Linked DNA regions of Homo sapiens: region 1 is linked to region 2. Evidence: promoter capture Hi-C in 16 types of primary human blood cells and fetal thymus (Javierre and others, 2016). All regions are on one chromosome and are shown on one strand. Each heading gives the region's core, a stretch centred on a gene start or on the middle of the fragment in contact. The rest is flanking DNA. Distances are from core to core; before and after follow the strand shown. Region 1 holds the start of MNDA (myeloid cell nuclear differentiation antigen). Region 2 holds the start of OR6K2 (olfactory receptor family 6 subfamily K member 2).

Evidence for each region. The method cuts DNA at HindIII sites, captures the fragments that hold promoters and counts their contacts. A CHiCAGO score of 5 or more calls a contact.
Region 1: a contact is called between a fragment that was not itself captured here and the fragment with the promoter of OR6K2 in region 2, in 1 of 17 cell types (erythroblasts). The highest score is 5.0, in erythroblasts.

Annotation. Positions count from the first base shown.
Region 1 is chr1:158,830,560-158,834,469 of GRCh38, forward strand. It overlaps MNDA (myeloid cell nuclear differentiation antigen), which reads left to right and starts at 792. Exons shown (of 7, transcript NM_002432.3): 1 at 792-998. It also overlaps a transcript of OR6N1 not described here. The HindIII fragment of the contact is 873 bases long and covers 915-1,787 here.
Region 2 is chr1:158,698,522-158,702,080 of GRCh38, forward strand. It overlaps OR6K2 (olfactory receptor family 6 subfamily K member 2), which reads right to left and starts at 2,131. Exons shown (of 1, transcript NM_001005279.3): 1 at 1,157-2,131. The coding sequence starts at 2,131. The coding sequence ends at 1,157. The HindIII fragment of the contact is 9,102 bases long and covers 362-3,559 here.

The DNA.
Region 1 (3,910 bases), core at 101-2,600, 130 kb after region 2:
AGTTATGATACTTTGTAGTGCACCCACTGTTCTTCACAGGAAAAAAAAATTGCAGTACAAAGGGTTTATCAGGCCCCCTATCATTCCAGAGTTTCAGTGCTGTTCCAGAATGTTCAAGGTTTCAGTCATGATATGAACCAACTATCCATAAATAATGCAAAAAGCATGAGTAATCATGAATTTAATAATCAAGGTAAGGCAGCTCAGTTATTATACTCAAGAGAGCAACTAGTATGAAACTCTTTCAAATTATTTGAATAAGGATTTACATATTCATAATGACTTTCTGCCTCTGTCAAGCTCCAGGTGTATCAGTTATTAATAACTGGGTGAATATGTAGGTACTATTTAAACAAAAACAATTTCACAGTAGACCCACCCCTATCCAAGAGATGAAGTCAAGTTCTGGTAGCAATAGACATCTCTACCAAGATCTCCTGCTCCTGCCACTCTGTGAACAGGAAAGGAGGGAGAAACTTTGGTGTTTTGCCTTTCCCAATTTATATTAAGATCCTTATTCAAGCGGCTACCGGTTTCTAATGACCTATATGTAAGTTAGCTTTATAAGAAAGTTCTGAGTTTGAAACTCCTTTCAGCAAGTATTTGTAAGTCAAAAAAGCGAAGAAGAGGCACCATTTACTGTCATTTCTCCTTGTGACTGAGATTACTTACTACAAAGAGGAACTGACCACTTTCTCTGACATCTGAAATAGAAAGCTACAAAGGCTGATAGGCGTGGCTTCAAAATTGTTTCATGATTACATAACTTCTTTCTAGTTAGGAATTAGGACAGTGTAAGAAGGCCATCTACAATCAAGATTGAGAGTGGCTCTAACAAGTGCCATTTTTCCTTGTTAGCTTTCATTTCTCAGCCCTTTACAAGATTAAAATAGTCTGCAGTTTAATCTCTCCAAAGCTTTACGGACAGTGATTCTGTCCTAAACAAGACAGTGACTCCAGGATTTCTGAAGACTATTGTGGAAGAAGCATCCATTAAGGTGAGATTTCTGGGAAGTTCTTTAGAGAAAGATCTAGGTATCTAGTTGGTAACCACACCATCTCAGTAGAGAATAATTGCCTGAGACCAGAAGTGTTGTTATCAATCATATTCAGAAAACTGAGAACTGAATGCTTTAACTGTCTAGGTAGCAAATGGATATCTTTTATTCTACCACAATTGGGGTATGAACCAAAAAAATGTATTTTGTCTACAGCAGGTTTTAAAAATTAATTCTTGGGTGTCTTTTGGCATAAATTGATATTTAGAGGAGATACTTGGTTTTCTTGGCTGGAGGATGACTTGGTGACTGGGTTTGGGCCTAAGTTAAAAGACAAGACAGTCAGATAAGAAAATTATTATGAAGTAATATTTAGTAAAAAATAAACCAGGATATAAATCTCTATTATATGATTTTATCTCTATTTTAAAAAGCATAGACATGTGCACACATTAATTTCTCAATTTTACAAGCATTTACTCAAAAATAATCTTTACATTTTCATGAATCAGTTTCATTTTATGCTTCATTTTACAACAAGTGTAAGAAGAAATAATTCTCTTTTTCAAATGGTCTATGCTTTACTCAGTCATAGATAACATTTTTTGTGGCAAGGTATAATGAAAAGACAGGGAGAATCAATTATATATTTCCTACTTTGGGATACATTTTGACTTTTTTATGGCTTTGTACATATGAATGTTTTCTAATTACTCCATGAGTACTTGAGAAGAGTTTATAAACGTTGGATTCCAAATTCTATTTAAGTAAGATAAAGTTTCTTAAGTAAGCTTGTTAATTATGTTTGAAAAATCTAAATCTAAATCTAAGCTATTTTTTACCTTGTTCTTTCAGTAACTGAGAGATGTGGTGAAATCTCCAACTCTAATAGTGATTTTGTTAATTTCTCATTGTAGTTCTTTTGATTTCTACCATATATTTTTACATAGAATATGTATATCTAAGTATATATGTTATGTGTGTGTTTAGAGAGAAGAAAAAACTTCTATATGCTACTTTATAAAGTAATAACAGATTATATTTATAATATAATTTAAATTATTATATCTTTTTCCAAGTTGCATACTTTACCATTATGTAGTGAAACTATGTACTGATACTTATTGACTTAAGCCTATTTTAAGCTACACTATTTTTCCTAAAAAGTCTTTCTTTAAGTTAGAGTTTGAAGAATATAACTTTTCCAGCTCTTTCTCAAACTTAAGTGAACTTATGCTTTATTTGTACTTTGTCAACAACATATGACTGGATTTATTTTTAATCCAAATTGAAAATTTTTCCTCCTAGTTGATGAGTTTAGTCCAGATATGCAAATTCTATAAAGGTATATATTTTAACTTGGTTTTGCCATCTTACTTTGTTTCAATTTATAGCACTTATTCTGTGCTTTCTTCTTCTCCTTTCTTGTCAAGTTTCTTATTTTTAAAAAATCTATATTCTCCTTAAAGACAAGCCCCTTAGCAAACTCTCACATCTTCTGGTCCCCCAAACATACAACTTCACCTGTTAAGAGTATGTTCATATAGTTCCTGTTTTCTTTTATTTGACTCTGGCTTTACTTATTTTTAAGATAGTAAAAACACTAATTAAAGTATTTGCTTGATCTTTCTTCCCTTTTGGCCTCCAACATTTCTTAGATTTATTTCTTTTCATAATGAGTAGTTCTTCACAAAGAGCTGTGGGTATGGATATTTTCACTGCCAAGCTTCTGAAAGCTTTGAATATAATAATTGTTTTCTTTTAATTGTGTTAAGAAACATGTAACATAAAATGTGTCATCTTAATCAGCTTCAAGTGTACAGTTCAGTAGTATTAAATACATTCATATTGTTGTGCAACCAACCTCCAGAACGCCTTTGCATCTTGCAAAACTAAAACTCTAACCGTTAACCAACAATTTCACCATTCCCCTTTCCTCCAGAGCTTGGCAAACATCATTCTACCTTCTTTCCCCATAAATTTAAAAACTCTAACTCTTCATATATGTTTAATCATACAGTAAGCGTGTGCTTTTTGTGACTGGCTTTTTTCATTTCATGTTCTCAAAGTTCATTCATGTTGTATTGTATCATGTGTCAGAATATTCTTTCTTCCTAGGGTAGAATAATATTCCATTTCATGTATTTACCATAAAATACGTAAGAAACCATATTTCTTTTTATTCATTCATCCATTGAAGGACACTTGTAATACTTTCACATTTTTCTGTTGTGATTAATGCTGCAATGAACATATATGTACATGCATTTATTTGAGATCACACTTTCACTTATTTTGGGAATATATCTAGAAGTGAAATTACTGAATCATATGGTAATGTTATTTTTAATTTTAAGAGTAAGAATCATATTTTTTTCATAGCATCTGAACCATTTTACATTCCTACCAATGATGTACAAGGTTTCCCTTTTTTACTCATCCTCACCAACACTGGTTATTTTCTGTAGTTATTTTTTTGACAGTACCAAAAAACATCATCCTAGGAGCTCCGATGTTTTGTGCATGTATGTTTTTAATTGTTATATCTCATTGTGGTTTTTATGGGTTTGATTTGTATTTTTCTAAAGATTATTGCCGTTGAGCATACTCATATGTGCTTATTGGCCATTTGTATAGCACCTTTGAAGAAATGTCTATTCAAGTCCTTTATCAATTTTTTTTTTTTTTTTTTTGAGACGGAGTTTCGCCCTGTCGCCCAGGCTGGAGTGCAGTGGCGCGATCTCGACTCACTGCAAGCTCCGCCTCCCGGGTTCACGCCATTCTCCTGCCTCAGCCTCCCATGTAGCTGGGACTACAGACACGCGCCACCATGCCCGGCTAATTTTTGTATTTTTAGTAGAGAAGGGGTTTCACCGTGTTTATCAATTTTTATCACACTGTTTGGATTCTGT
Region 2 (3,559 bases), core at 881-3,380:
AATACATGACTTAAACTCAGTGATACTTCTTGCATTTCTTTTTCCCTCTGTCCTCTTGTTCTTCAACCAAGTATCCCTTAAAGCCTTTCTCTTACCCAGACCCCCTGCACCCACAATCAACAGGTTTTCTCTGATTTTTCTTCTCTTCTGTATCCCAGACTTTTATTTGATAGCATTAACCCTTTTTATAAGATCTCTCCTTAACTTGTCTTTCCATTTTATTTTAAAATATCATAAGATTTAGGAGTAAAAGTAATGAAAGGATTGTGGCACAAAAGTGGGGAAATCACACTGACAGCTATAGGATTTGTGTTGGCAGGCTAGAGAAGGGTAAAAATTTATTAACATTTGCACAGTAATAAGCTTTATCCTATCCCAGCTGAATCATGAGCCCTGGAGAAAAATCGCTTTTTATAAAGCATGTATGACATGAAGACTCAGCAAGAGAAAGAAGCGTCAATGAGGTAGGATAAAAAAGAGTTTGGAATCCTAAAAGCCAAAGAAGAGAGCTTGAAAGAGTTGTTGCCTAACACAATTGGTCGATTGTCTAAAACAATCAGAATGCAGCATGGCGGTATGTTGGTTTATTCATTCAACAGATCATTTTTATGTTTATTACTTAATATGTACAATGCATTTGATCACAGTGAATGCAACATCTAGGTTTTTTATGTATCATGAAAAAACTGATTATTTAATGAGTAACAATTAAATTGCTTATTGATCAATACTTGGATACTCAATTTAAAAATTTGAGTCATTCTTCAACTATAGAAGCTAGAGGCACCATGGATAAAACTTAGTCTTATGAAGGATACTTTTTAAATTACCAGGTCTTACAGACAAATATTTTAATTGCTTTAAAATTAAAGTAAATGTTTATGCAGAACATTTCAACAAAATGAATTTACTTTGAATAACTTGAGTGGCAGAAACTGTAATTAATAAAGTCAGATTGAAAAATATGTCTAATTGAGTAATGATTAAATAGAAGTTATTGACGTTAGCTATTGCTGAATTTGTTTCCTTTTGTTTGGTTTGGTTTGGTTTGGTTTGGTGAGCTTTGGGAGACCAGTTTGAATAGAAGGTTGATAGGAAAAGACAGATTGCTGAGAGCTGAAGGTGAAGAGGAACCAGCAACTATACAGAATCTCAACTAAAATATCTTACTTGAGGTCCCTGGTCTTACGGAAAAAAATATCTTAGCTTGACCTATGTGCTTTTTTATAGCTTCTTTTATTTCTTTATTCCTCAGGCTATAGATAATGGGGTTGAAGAAGGGAGACAAAACTGCAAAGGCCAGAGCAATGGCTATATCCCAGAACAAAGAGTAGGTGGCAGAGAAGCGTAGGTACATGAGAGTCACACTGCCAAAGAAGAGCGAAAAGACAATGAAGTGAGAGACACACGTGGAAAATGCTGTGCGGCGGCCTCCAGCTGAATGAATACGTAGAATTACAGCCACAATACCATCGTAGGACATGAAGATGAGCATCACAGCTGTAATAATCTCCACTGCATGAATGACATCCACTACCTGAATCATGACGATGGCTCGTGTGTCTGTGCAGGCCAGACGCAGCACTGGGAGGAAGTCACAGAAGATATGTTCAAGGTGATTCGAACCACAAAATGGCAGTGTAGAGATCCAGGCAATCTCAGGAAGGGGTGTGATAAAGCCACAAACACAGCAACTTAAAGTCAGTTGGGTACATAGCTTGGGGGTCATGATAGAGGGATAATGAAGAGGGCTGCATATGGCCAGGTAGTGGTCAAAGGCCATAACTGTCAAGAGACACACCTCACAGATGCCGGTGGAATGGAAGAAATACATCTGCAGGAGACAACCATTGAAGGAAATGCTCCTCTCACTAAGCAGGCTAGACAGCATCTTTGGGATTGTGGCTGTGGTATACCAAATCTCCAGGAAAGAAAGAGCACTGATAAAAGTATACATGGGAGTGTGGAGGTGAGTATTCAACTGGACCACTGTGATGATGACCAGGTTTCCAACAACAATGAAAGCATAGATGAAGAGCAGTGGAACAAAGCAGACAACAGACTTAACCCAGGAATAAGGGAAAGCGGAGAAGATAAACTCCTGAATGGTGGTTCGATTGGGGCTCTCCATCTCCAAGTTGAAAGTGAGAGTTTCAATTTCCAGTGCACTCAAGCCTTCTAGGAGGCATCTACTATTGGATAAAGGAATACACTTACAAGAAGCCAGCGTCTGAATAGAGCCCTGTAATGGGGATAGAGAGGAAGACAAGGAAGAAGGACATGGTCCATATTCTATAGTTGCTTACGACTTAAGTTGTAGTGTGGAAAAAATCCAGTCAGAAAGCACAGTCAATATTTTGGATGTGAGATTCTCAGATATATTAACATGCATCAGAATCACCTGGAGGGCTTGTTAAAACTCATATTGCTGGTCCTCATACTGAGAGTTCGGTCCTAATCTGTAGTTCTGAGGTAGGACCCAAGAATTTTCATTTCTAACAAATTTTCAGGCAATGGTGGTCCTGCTGGTCAGGGGACTATATTTTAAAACAACTTTGTTTAGGCGAATATAGAATTAGACAGAGCATTGAAGGAATAATCAATAATTAAGAGGACGTTCTTTTCGATATTTAAATCTTATTGATTCCCTAATAATCTCCCCACATTGTTCCATATATTTTTTCTTCAAGCTCCCAGTTTATTGGATTCTTGGCATATGATTTGATTGGCATATTTTTATAATAAAGACAAAACCATTACTGGTGAATTCTTTCAACCCTCTTTCTCTAATAACTCTTCCTCTCTTCATATGTATATTCTTAACCATAATTCAGAGAATATTTGGAGAAGAAAAGCCATATAAATAATCATAAGTTATTTTACCTTGTTTTATAAGATAGTCTATTCTATCTCCTTCCTTTCCTTCTCTTCTACGTCTTCTTGGTAAGGAGATCTTAAAGGGGTTTTGTACCAGAAGCCTTTGGTCAAATGTAGTAACTTATGAAAACTAACTATATTAATAAATAAATGCTTAATATAGTTGTACACTTGCTCTGGTACAATTGAATGGTGGTAGTTAGAAGGAAGGGCAGAGCTGCAGTGCCCTGTAGAATACAATTTAAACTACACACATTATAGGAAATTGTCCTATTAATTTATTCTCTTTTCAGAATGTTTTGTTTTACTTTATTTGTCTCTTCTGCAATCAAACATGCACATTTCTTCTTATCTTGGGAGAAAATACTGTTTCTATTCAGGTTATTTCCCTCCTTTGTAACAACTGCATTATTTTTCCAATGTGTAAAAGGTATTTATTCTATTCATTCTTCTTTGAATCTCTGAATAATGTATCCACCCTCAACTTCCCATATCTCTTTTCTTAAGGTATACTAGCGACTTTCTCATTGAAATTTAATGGCCTCCCTCTGTCTTCATTGCCACTAACTTCCAAAGGTCAATTGCCCAATGTTTGAAATTCCTTTTTTTGCCTATTTGACACCACACTATCCTGGTTTTCCTCACTGATTATTCAATTTTTTATATCCCAAGTGTAAACATA